3 separate regions of the Homo sapiens genome follow, and regions 1 and 2 are each linked to region 3. The links are contacts of gene promoters, found by promoter capture Hi-C in blood cells and fetal thymus (Javierre and others, 2016). All regions are on one chromosome and are shown on one strand. Each heading gives the region's core, a stretch centred on a gene start or on the middle of the fragment in contact. The rest is flanking DNA. Distances are from core to core; before and after follow the strand shown.

Region 1 (3,771 bases), core at 210-2,709, 1.1 Mb before region 3:
AAACTCTGGTCTCTGACATTTGGTTCTCAAGTTTTTTGGTCTCAACGCTTTCACGCTCTTACAAGAGGACACTCGAAAGCTTTTGCAGATGTGAGTTGTGTCTGTGGATATTTACAGTATTAAAAATTAATATAAGAAATATTAGAATATGTAGTTTCTTTAAAAATGAGAAAAACATTACATGTTAACATTTTTATGAAAAATAACTATTTTCCAAAAGCAAAAACATGAATGAGACAAGTAGCATTGTTTTACATTTTTGCAAATCTCCGTAATGTCTTGACTTAATGTGAGATAGTTGGAATGTCCTGTCTGATTCCGCTGTCAGTCTGTGTGGTGTTATGCCGCTGAAGTATGTGAAGAAAATCTGAACTCACACAATAATGAAGTTTGGAAAGTTGTTAAAGCATGTTTTAACAACTTTTTTGGATAATTGTAGATATTCTTCTTTGATACTACACCAAAGCTTGACAAGAGGTAATTTCTCAAAGCTTAGTTACATTATGAAATCTGAAATCATATCAATGAACTTTTTGTACTCTTCATCGAAATCCATTGATTGGTTTGCATGCATTGTTTGAATGTGTGATTTTGCCAAGGCATGCACTTGCCATTTGGAACACATTGGTTCACTGAGTTATTTGACTCTTCCAAATATTGACACATTTCATTATACAGTATCAAAAAGTCATAACAGTGTTACCACCAATGTCATCAGAAAAGTCTTTTACATATTGGGAAGCGGTCAGGCCCAGGATGGTGGATATAAGTTTTTTAAAAATCAGTTTTTTACTTGGAATCTCAAATTTTATCACTGGCCACAAGCCCTGTCAGTTGTTTTCTGTGAAATGACCACATGTAGCAAGCACCCCAGCATACAGGGGAGCCTAGCAGCTTCATTCATTTTGTAGCAAACATCAGTCACATGCCCAGATCTAAATAAACATAGACTGTCAGTTGTTCTTTCAAGTAAAAGTGTTGTTTCATGAAAAAGATGGCCAGTTCAACTCATAACTCAAACCGTCACGAAAACAGTTCTTAAGAAATCATTCCTTCTTTATAAACAGAAGTGCTTTATGTATATTTCCTGCACAGAATATTGAAAAGACGTGTACTCCTGGGTCTAGATTTGATACATTTAATGTTATGCTTTCATGTGTTTACTAGATGCCTACTTGTATGACACACCATCTTAGCCAGAAGTTCAGCAACTCGTACACAGCTCACAAGTCACAAAAACCAGGATGTGTGGCTTCAGAGGTTTCTGAAATGACGCTGGGTTTCTTAGATGGTGCTGGTTTTTTTCATTGTTTTTTTTTTTTAAATCACAAACACTACTAATACCCACTGTTGCCACTGTTTGACTTATGCTAAACTGCTAGCAGTTCTTCCCACCATTGTTTTTGCATTATTTATACAAATATCAAGACGCTGAAAAAGGCAAATAATTTCTCAGTATTATTATAAAAATAGTTTTGGCTTTGTATAGTTTTGGTCTTGGGACCCCAGGGTTCTGAACCATGCTTAGAGAAATGCTAGTCTAAGTGAAGGAAATGGTCTGGGCTTGTCTCCTAACCTCTGAAGTCCCCACACACTGGATCCACTTCCCAAATACACCCTTGTCCTGTCCTGTCTTAAAGTCTTCGCCCAAGCAAGCCATTTTGTGCCCCTGGAATTGCCCCTGGGGAAATCCCAGCCATCCTCCAGGGCCCTTGCCAGCACCAGCTCTTTTCGTGAAGCCTTGGCGGTACTGCTCAGAGCACACAGGACTCTGTCTGACTTCCCCAGGGAAGAAAGCCAGAGTGACCTCTAAAGTCACATGTTGTTCTTTTATGACTTGTTAACCTTGTGTAAGTTGCTGAACCTCTATGACCCTCCGTCTCTTCATCTGTTAAAATAGGGATAATTTTACCTACATTTGCAGGGATGTTTTGAGAATTAAATAAGATACATATGTATTGTGTCCAGCGTGAGGCATGGCATATGGGAGTTAATGAATCTTGGTTGCCTCATTCATTCTCCTGATGTGTAAGTGCCTCAAGGGCAAGTATGTTCTTCTACTTAACTTTTTTTTTTTTAATCCCCCTGCAATGCCTAAGATAGCGCCTCGGACAAGTAGGCATCTGGTAAACATATCTTGGAGTAAATTATACTTAGAGATTGGATATTCTAGTTTTAATTTGCCTTGCTTTTTTCACAGTTTCATCTCCCTTTCTGGCTTGTGGCATAGATAAACTCTGTTCTTGCCAGTGCTCTCAGTTGTGATGGAACCTGTACATCTGGCATTGTTTCATGGCTTAAACTCTTGGCCTTCCTTTTCTATTTTTTTTAATAATTTTTTATTGTGAATTAATTTAAACTTGGATGAGTTTTGTGTTTTGTTGTTCCCAAGCTAATGATCAGCATTTGCATACAGATGAAGCTTCCCTGAGAATCAGAAGCAGGGTGGATTATATTGTAGGAGAGGAAACACACACACAGACACAGACAGACACACACACACACAGACACACACACCCCAAGAACTTGGTTAAGAATTCAAAGTAGAATAGTTTCTTCCTGTTCCCAGCATCATAGGCAGTGCTCAAGTATTACAAATGTCCCATTTTTAAAAAGTATTTGGGAACATTCGTTGTGAAAAATCAGTGTGTAAAGGAAGGTACTTCTGGTCCATATTCAGGAATCCCTAAAGGAAGGAAAGTAGACCATGGCAAGTAACAGTTGCTGGGCATGGCTGTGCAGAGGGGCTCGGACTGTGGTCGTAGAATGGGTTCTCAGGTTTGCCTTCATGAATGGTTCACATTATCTGTCTCCATCTGATGGGTCAGCTTTGGGCTGCTCTGAATCGCCCTGAGAAACATTGAACATTTTCCCTGGGCCAGCAGCAGCGTCCCTCGGATCTTCCAGTCCTGGGGGCACTGAGCACCAGGGGGATGGAAGATCGGCCCTGGGGAGACCCCCCCAGCCTGGTCTTGGCTCCCTTCCCCAATGTGAGGAGTCTCTTCCGTTCAAGTTTCCGCATCTGTGAATTGCAGGAAGCTCAATCCTAGTCAATGCCTGAGCTGCTCGATGAAAGCCAGTAATCAAAAATTTTGATTTCTTTGCAGATGGCCAATCTAAAAGCCACTTTCACTTTTCCCAAGCCAACTGTAAGTTCATTTAATGAATGGCTAACTCAAGTAACCCAGGGCAATAGATGTCTTTTCATCAGGTGGTAAAGAAGCAAGTGGCTTGGCTGACCTCACGATAGTTAGGGGTGTCCAGTGCAGGAGGGGAAGGGAGCCCAGGAAATTGGCCTGTGATTCTTCTCCAGCCATTTATGCAGTAAACACAGGACATCTGCTGTGTATGAGACACCGTGATTGTCATCCATACTTAGGAATTCACCAGACCATTTGTTTCCCAGCTTTTCTTTTGAATTAAAATCTTCCACAAGCCACGGGAAGTTTCTCTGCTTGGACTCTACCCCTAAAGCCTCCCCGTCGGCCTCCGAGGTAGACTCAGGTCATGCTAGACAACCCAGAGCTCTAAGGCAGAGTTTTGAACACCACTGCAGTAAGAGCACAAACTGCTGAGATCAAGGGCCATGTTTTCCTCCACTTTGTACCTCTGCACTCAGCATAGGGCCTGGCACAAAAGAGGTACAAATAACTGTGTGTCTTTGAAGGAATCTCCAAAGTAAATGGGGTCAGAGAGTGGCTGTGGGGGACTGATGTATAGCAAGCAAGGAAAGAGTGTTCATCAGTAACTCTTAAGACGGGAGAAAACAAT
Region 2 (3,485 bases), core at 852-3,351, 1.2 Mb before region 3:
TCCAGAATAGCTGAGACTACAGGTGTGTACCACCATGCCTGGTTAATTTTTGTATTTATGGTAGAGATGGGGTTTCACCATATTGCTCAGGCTGGTCTCCAACTCCTGGGCTCAAGCAGTCCACCTGCCTCATGCCTCCCAAAGTGCTGGGACTACAGGCATGAATCACTGCCCCCTTCCTAAATGGTCCCAGTTTAAGTGAGTGTAGGGGTGTGTGTGTGTGTGTGTGGTGTGTGTGTGTGTGTGTGTGTGTGTGTGTGTGTCTTGCAACAGAATGGCATCCTATCCAGGGATGGTTCCCACCTTTTGCCCAAGCTGAGCAGCTGGGATAAGGCTCCCACTATCTGTGACCTTGAACTGGAATAAATGAGTTGGAAAAATGAATAAATCCGTGAAACAAATGACTGTAAAATAAAAATATGTAAGTGTACATTAATCATAAAAATGCACGACAATAAATGAGATAGGAGTGCACTCAGCTACCATATTTGTGATTGTTTTTGAATTTCATGGTAGCAGCAGGTCCTACAGGCAACTTTTGCTTTGCAAACACTTATTCCTTGACTTAACCCAGCACCACAGCAACCATCGCTCACTTAATCACTAGAAATTTGGCAAACCATTATCTTGTTTTTATCAATCTTTAAAAAATGTAGGTAGGCCAGGTGCAGTGGCTGGTGCCTGTATTCCCAGCACTTTAGGAGGCCAAGGTGGGCAGATTCCTTAAGCCCAGGAGTTCGAGACCAACCTGGGCAGCATGGTGAAACCCCATCTCTACCAAAAATACAAGAAGTTTATCCAGGCTTGGTGGTGCGCGCCTGTAGTCTCAACTACTGGGGAGTCTGAAGTGGGAGAATCACCTGAGTCTGGGGAAGTAGAGCCTGCAGTGAGCTGTGATTGCACCACTGCACCCCCAGCCTGGTTGACACAGCGAGACCCTATCTCAAGGGAAAAAATAAAAATAAAAAAGAGGTATAGCTCACATTTATTTTAATGTTTAATATTAGAAGTGTTTTGAATTTTTACTTTGAAGTTCGGTGATGTTTTTGTAACCGGAAATAATGCTGTAGGAACTTAACTCTTTTTTTATATGTCAGCCTATGGCAAATTTGGTTTTGTTATATGTTGTTTTGCTTAAGGTGACAGTTTCCAAGAACCTACTCCGTGAGGACTGGTGAGCTGGGTCAGAGTAAATAGCACAGGATGACGACTGCAAGGACGATATGGGGGCAGCAGGGTTTTAGACATACTTGGAATGGCAGCTTCCTGAGGTAGGCCAAGTATTCTCAGCATAATAAGGGCTACATTTAGGTGTATCTGGAGGAAGACGGTGAACAGATTTCCACGGACGGTGAGTGCACTGGAAAACAGGCAGGGATGGCAAGTACCATAGTGATGGATTGGAAGAAGGTGCACTTTGGGGCATGATTCTACTGGTTAAGCCAAGGGCTCTCGATGAGGTCCGAGGTTCCTGCCCCGGGCACGGAGTGGGTTGGCAGTGACAGCCCAGCCTATTACGTGGGAGTCTCCCTCTTGAATGGCTCCAGGAGGCCCATATCGAGGGTCTGAAAGGCCAGACGGTTATCCGCACAAAAGTATTAAGTTCATTTCAGGGACTGACCCGGCAATGTGCCCGGGTCCTTCCCCTCGGTGCTGGGAAGCCCTGGTCTCCCTGCAGCATTTCACACCTGGCTGGGTCTCCTGACTCGTGGCGTGGGTGAGTGCATGAGCCTCCCTCCTTCGCCTGATCGACGCCTGGGGGCTCCTCTCCCCAACCTCCTCACTCTGCCCACTCTGTCCTCTCCCTCCTTGGGGAGCGGCAGGGGACGCCTAGCCGGGGTCCCCAGGCTCCCGCTCGCAACCCACGGCCTCCTCCGCGGGCAGGGAGCGAACGCCCGGAGGTCGCCCGCGCACAGGGGGCGGCCCGGCTGCAGCGGAGCCGGGGCGGGAAGGCGCAGCCTAACGGTCCAGCTGCCGCGCCCCGCGCCCCGCACCCAGTGCCCCGCCCGCGGCGCCGCAGCCGCCTCCCGCCTGCCCGCCCGCCCCCTGCGTCATGACGCCGGCGCCCAACGCGGAAGCCGCTCGCCGCGCGCCGGGTCCAGCCGCGGGCTGAGCGCGGATCCGCGGCGGGCGCAGGATACGGGCCGGGGCGCGAGCCGAGCGCAGTCTGCCGGGCCGAGCGGGCGGAGCGAGCCGAGTGGGGCTGAGCGCGCCGGCGGCGGCGGGCGGAGCGGAGCGCGGCGCGCCGGGGCCGCCGCCGGGGGGATGCGGCTGCCTCCCCGGGCCGGGGTGTAGAGAGGGCGGGTCCCCGGCCTCGGGAGCACGGCGGTGGAGGGGACATAGGAGGCGGCCATGGCGACCCCCGGCAACCTAGGGTCCTCTGTCCTGGCGAGCAAGACCAAGACCAAGAAGAAGCACTTCGTAGCGCAGAAAGTGAAGCTGTTTCGGGCCAGCGACCCGCTGCTCAGCGTCCTCATGTGGGGGGTAAACCACTCGGTAAGGGCTCAGCTGCGGCGCGCGGTCCCCTTCCTCCTCCTCCTCTTCCTCCTCGTTCCCCTCCTCCTCCGGCTGCAGCTGCTGCGGGGCGGGGAGCCGGAGTCAGCCCTGGACCTCCGGCTGCTCGCCCGCCTCGAAGCCCCCAGCCCCGCGGCGCGTGCCCCCAGCCCTCTGGGCCGCCCAGGCACCACCACTTGCGTCCCCTTTAGATCTATGGCCCGGTGCGGGTCGGGGGTCCCGTGTGCATGTGAGTCTCACGGTGGGTGCCAGTGCCGCCCCCGGTCCGCCCGCCCGCCCGCAGGTCGGTCCCCGCAGCCTGGGAGGTAGGAAGTTTGTGCGGGGCACGGCGCCTCGGCTGTCAGCCCCGGCGGGAGCTGCTGGGGGCCGGGTCCGGGCGACCGCTACCCGGTGTGGGGGCCGCGCGGCGCCCGCGTCTTCCGCTTGCGGGCAGGTGTACCTGTCCCGGGCTGGGCGCGTGCGAGCCTCCCACTGGGGCACTGGGGCGAGGATACCGGAGCGCGAGCAGATTTGGGGCAGCAGCTTTAGTGCTTAGGTCCTTTCTTTTTCCTTTAAAGGCAATATTACTGGGCACAAGTCGGCTTTTTGGCAAAGCAGCAGCCGATGTAAATATGGCTCTGGCGTCGGGCGGCATCCCTGCGCTTCTCCCGCATCGCCCTGCCGCTGTGCGGGCTGGAGAGCCCTTGGCGGGGAGTCTTCCTCCCTTCGTCGCCTCCCCCCACTTTGGGGAGTCAGGCAGAAGTCACCGACTGCGGAAGGGCGGCCGGGGCGGGGACAGCAGGCGGGGGTCCCGGCGGGCGCGGGCGGAGGGGGTCCCGAGTTGGCCGCACCCGCTGTGGGGGGTGTGGGAAAGGCTGGAGAACGCGTGGAAAGGTTAGCGTCACGCACAGTCGGGGATTGGAGGATGCGCCGCTGCGGGCTATGCGGACTGCGGTTCGAGGGTCTGAAATAGCCTCCTGCTGATCTGACAG
Region 3 (3,584 bases), core at 157-2,656:
GAGGGGAATTTGTTTTTTAATGTCAAAGGTTGTGTTAGCATGTACATTTAACCCAGGAAATTGTGAGAACTCTCTTCAACTCAAGTTGGAAAAAGGGAATGTGTTTGAGCAAAGTCTATTTTTAACAACAGAAAAGTGTGAGTTAAAGTGGACTGTGTGTTAGGTTGGGAATATAATCCATGGCAACTTCACTATACAAGTATTTTTGATTCTTCAGTGGAACTCATCCTCAAATTTTAGTAACTTGAAAAATTGAAGTCTTAAGTATTGTGTATTAAACTGAACCAAGAGATCACAGAAAGACAAAGCTATGGTAAAAGATGTTATAGTTATATTCTCATAGATTTAGTAGGAAAATCACAGCAAAGGAAATGCACCAGGAAGATATGAAATAGAGGAAATATGTTACAAATAATGAAATAGAAGGAGTTGCTGCACAATATAGCTTCACAATCTTATATTTTGAGGGGTAGGTTTTAATGAGAAGCCTCTGCATTGCATGGGAACTGGGAGTCGTAAGAATTATTTATGCAGTAAGAAGGAAAAAAATTAATTATTAGGAGCTCAATAATCACCAAATAAACTCTGAGCTTGGAGGTTAAAAATAGACGGCTATCTTCATGTTCAATTATACAGTATCAATTACTAATACAACTGATGTTTCAGTGTCTCAGCGAGAACAGATACCATCTTCTATGGAGATATCTTGGTATTAATTAATGACTGCTTTATTCTCATTATTCACAAGGAAAAATAGGGGTCGTGTCACATTAAAATTAAGATTATCTTAGTTTATCTGGGCTCTTAAACAAAGATCATTCAAAGTAATTATACTTTGAATTAATCGAGGTAGGCAATTTATCTCGTTATTTTTTTTTGTTCAAAGACAGGAAAATAAAGATCAGAAATAAGCAAAGTTTCATTTTGAAGATAGAAAGAACCAAACAAACATGTCTTGACTTTTGCAGTATTTCCCTTGCTAAAGGGGGAATGAGGGAACTGTAAAAGACGTGACTTTGCAAAGTCAAGTCCTTTTTAAAAGACTCGGATCGAAATTCTTGCTATGCAACAAGGATTCAAGTTTGATTAATTTTCTGCAAGCGACGTGACAGCGGTGTTTTAAAAGATTAATTAAAATTGAAGTGATACGGAGCAGGAATTCAACCTGCAGAGGCGTCCCTGGCGCCTTGGGGGGCTTTGTAAGCGAGTCCCAAGCCCGAACTGCGGGCTTTCCCGAGCCTGGGACGCAACTCCCCGTCTCCTGGAGAGGAACGCGGAATTTGGCAGGGCGCCCGCCTGGCCGCCTGGCATCCTGAGCTGGCCGCCAGCTCTCGGGGGGTGGGGACTGGGTGTGTCCTGGGGAACCCGCTGCCGAGAGAGCAGCTAGCGCAGCTCGCGACGAGCCATTGAGGACCAGGGTCGCGCCGAGAGGCCGGAGGGGGCTCCAGGCAGCCTGGAGCTGACGGCGCCGGGCTGCGTCCTCTTCACCTGGGGGTGGGGGGTGGGGGCACGTACTTTGTGACCAGGATGGTGCCGAGCCCCCTCTACGGCGGGAGCTTGCAGGGGTGCGGGGGTGTGACTGGCGCTCCGCGGACTCGTGTCCACAGTACAGAGGACATGTAGGGTTCGGCCGGGGCGCGGCTGCACCGGGGCCTGCCTCGCGGACCTGGACTCGGGACTCCGGGCGGCCCTGCCTGGTGCCATTGCCTCAGCCAAGTCTCCCACCTCTCTGCTCGGTTTCCCGCCCCACCTTTCCCCTACTACCGCATCCCTGTCCCCTCGCTTCCCTCCGCGATGTCTCCATCCGAGTAAGAAACGAAGCTGAACGCATTGGTAACTGTGCTCAAGAAGATGCAATCGCGGGAGCCCTCAGGGTGGCGCACGGCGGAGAGGCGACGCGGGTGGCGCTGCAGAGGGTACGGTGGGGGGCGGGGAAGAGGGGGGCGTTCGTGTGCAATTAGCCTCCCCAGGGCGCGGACCACGGTGTCCCCTTCTCTCCAGCTGGGGGTCTCGGGTCCTGGCGCTGAGAGGCCGCACCTTGCCTTGCTGCCCGGGCCGTGCACCCGTGGGCCCCAGGGCGACGCGGCGGGGGCGGCCCTAGCGACCTGCGGCGGCGCCGGGAAAGCCCTGCCTCTGCAGCGGGTCCCAGGGGTCGGGGCCTGGAAGGGTCCCTGGGAATGCTCCGCGCCGAGAAGGCTCTGTGGTTTCTCCTCCCCCACACGTCTCCCTCTCCTCCCCTCTTCCCGGGGACCTCAGAGGTGGCGGGGAAGTGGGAAGGGAGGCGGGCTTGCAGACCGTGCAGGCTGGGGAGCCGGAGCTCGGGAGTTGGGGGAGTCCGAGTGAGAACGGAAGCGCGTGGACGCGATGGAAGGGGCCGGGGGAAAGGGGGACGGCACTGGGGAGGGCTGGGGTGCGGGGCAGGCGACAGTCCCTTCCCCTCCGAGCGGCGCGGGGGACCTCTTCCCCGGGGAACCCCCACCCAGCCGTTCCCAACCTCGAGAACAAAGGGTCTGGGAAGCACGGTCGGGGTCGGGGAGCGGAGGTGGAGGGAGGCAGGAAGGCAGGCGGTGGGGGCAGGGGAGGGCGCCTCCCCACGTTTCCTCTCGCGGCCGAATGATGGAAAGCTCCCTCCAGCAAACGCCTCACTGAGGCCGCTTCTGAATCCGGGAGGGTTCGGGTTCGTTACCTAACGGCTGCACTTCGCTCCCTTCCTCCCCCAGCGTCCCCACCCCCTCCGGGGACCGGGGCCCCGGAGCTGCCAGGCCCGCTGCACGCGGCGGCGCGGGAGAAACCACGGGGCAGCAGCGCCCCCTGCAGGTGCCGGGCGCCTCCGCAGCCGCTGCGCGGACCCGACTCTTAAGGTGGCACCACCGGGTTCCCAGCCCGCGCGCAACCCGCAGCCCTGGCTCCATCCGCCGCACTTCTCCCTGTAGCGGCGGGCCTGACCGTCCGGAACGGCCGGAGTGTGCTGATGCCTGCTGCTATCTGCTTGATCCCTTCACCCTACCTCTCATCCAGGACTTCTTCCGCGGATGCGCAGCTAGCGATTTCGACAGGCGAGATTGAAAATTCCGGGCGAGTATATGAGGTTGAGTAAGTCCCGCTTCAGGGAGGAACGACCAGAATGACATTTCTTTAAGCCTAAATCAAACTTTTATTTTCGTTTATAAAAAGCAGAAGGCCAGCAGGAAAGGGTCGCGGAGGACTGGCACATCCACAACCGTAGGACTCTTGGATCCAAGTTTTTAGGCTGAGACTGGGCGGTCCGGGGTTCTCCTTCGGCGCTCACACCCCGCAAACTCGTGGGCAGTGCAGTGCTGGAGGCCGGGGGCAGTGGCGGACCCGCAGGGTAACCTTGTCTCGCGCACCTCCCGAGCCCCCAGCAGCCCACTCTCGTCCGAATGCTTTGTTTATTTGGTGACACCAGGGAACGTGGAGAAGAAGATCGAAGTTCAGTTTTTCTTTTTTCTTTATTTTAAATATTTTTCTTAACTAAATGGTATGTTTATGTGAACCCATCATCTCTTGGAATTAAGTGTCCTCAGCGAACTCCAGATTCCTAGGGGAAACCTACGTGCCCAGAG

Evidence for each region. Contacts are between HindIII fragments. The CHiCAGO score rates a contact against its expected background, and 5 or more counts as called.
Region 1: a fragment that was not itself captured here is called in contact with the fragment with the promoter of MIR1915HG in region 3 in 2 of 17 cell types (total CD4 T cells and naive CD8 T cells); the score reaches 5.3 in total CD4 T cells.
Region 2: a contact is called between the fragment with the promoter of PIP4K2A here and the fragment with the promoter of MIR1915HG in region 3, in 3 of 17 cell types (neutrophils, total CD4 T cells and naive CD4 T cells). The highest score is 6.6, in neutrophils.

The regions. Positions count from the first base shown.
Region 1 is chr10:22,568,391-22,572,161 of GRCh38, reverse strand. All of the region lies in intron 5 of PIP4K2A (phosphatidylinositol-5-phosphate 4-kinase type 2 alpha), which reads left to right. Among named protein-coding and RNA genes, the nearest start is that of LINC03027, 130 kb to the right of the region's middle. The HindIII fragment of the contact is 1,931 bases long and covers 494-2,424 here.
Region 2 is chr10:22,713,194-22,716,678 of GRCh38, reverse strand. It overlaps PIP4K2A (phosphatidylinositol-5-phosphate 4-kinase type 2 alpha), which reads left to right and starts at 2,101. Exons shown (of 10, transcript NM_005028.5): 1 at 2,101-2,496. The coding sequence starts at 2,353. RefSeq lists enhancers at 1,239-1,846, 1,847-2,455 and silencers at 1,616-2,285, 2,586-2,665, 2,836-2,955, 3,256-3,365. The HindIII fragment of the contact is 12,209 bases long and covers 1-3,485 here.
Region 3 is chr10:21,495,082-21,498,665 of GRCh38, reverse strand. It overlaps MIR1915HG (MIR1915 host gene), which reads left to right and starts at 1,406. Exons shown (of 2, transcript NR_160800.1): 1 at 1,406-1,916; 2 at 2,721-3,584. MIR1915 (microRNA 1915) reads left to right here and starts at 2,025; the gene lies at 2,025-2,104. RefSeq lists silencers at 1,926-2,175, 2,386-2,435, 2,486-2,925 and an enhancer at 3,350-3,584. The HindIII fragment of the contact is 8,649 bases long and covers 1-3,584 here.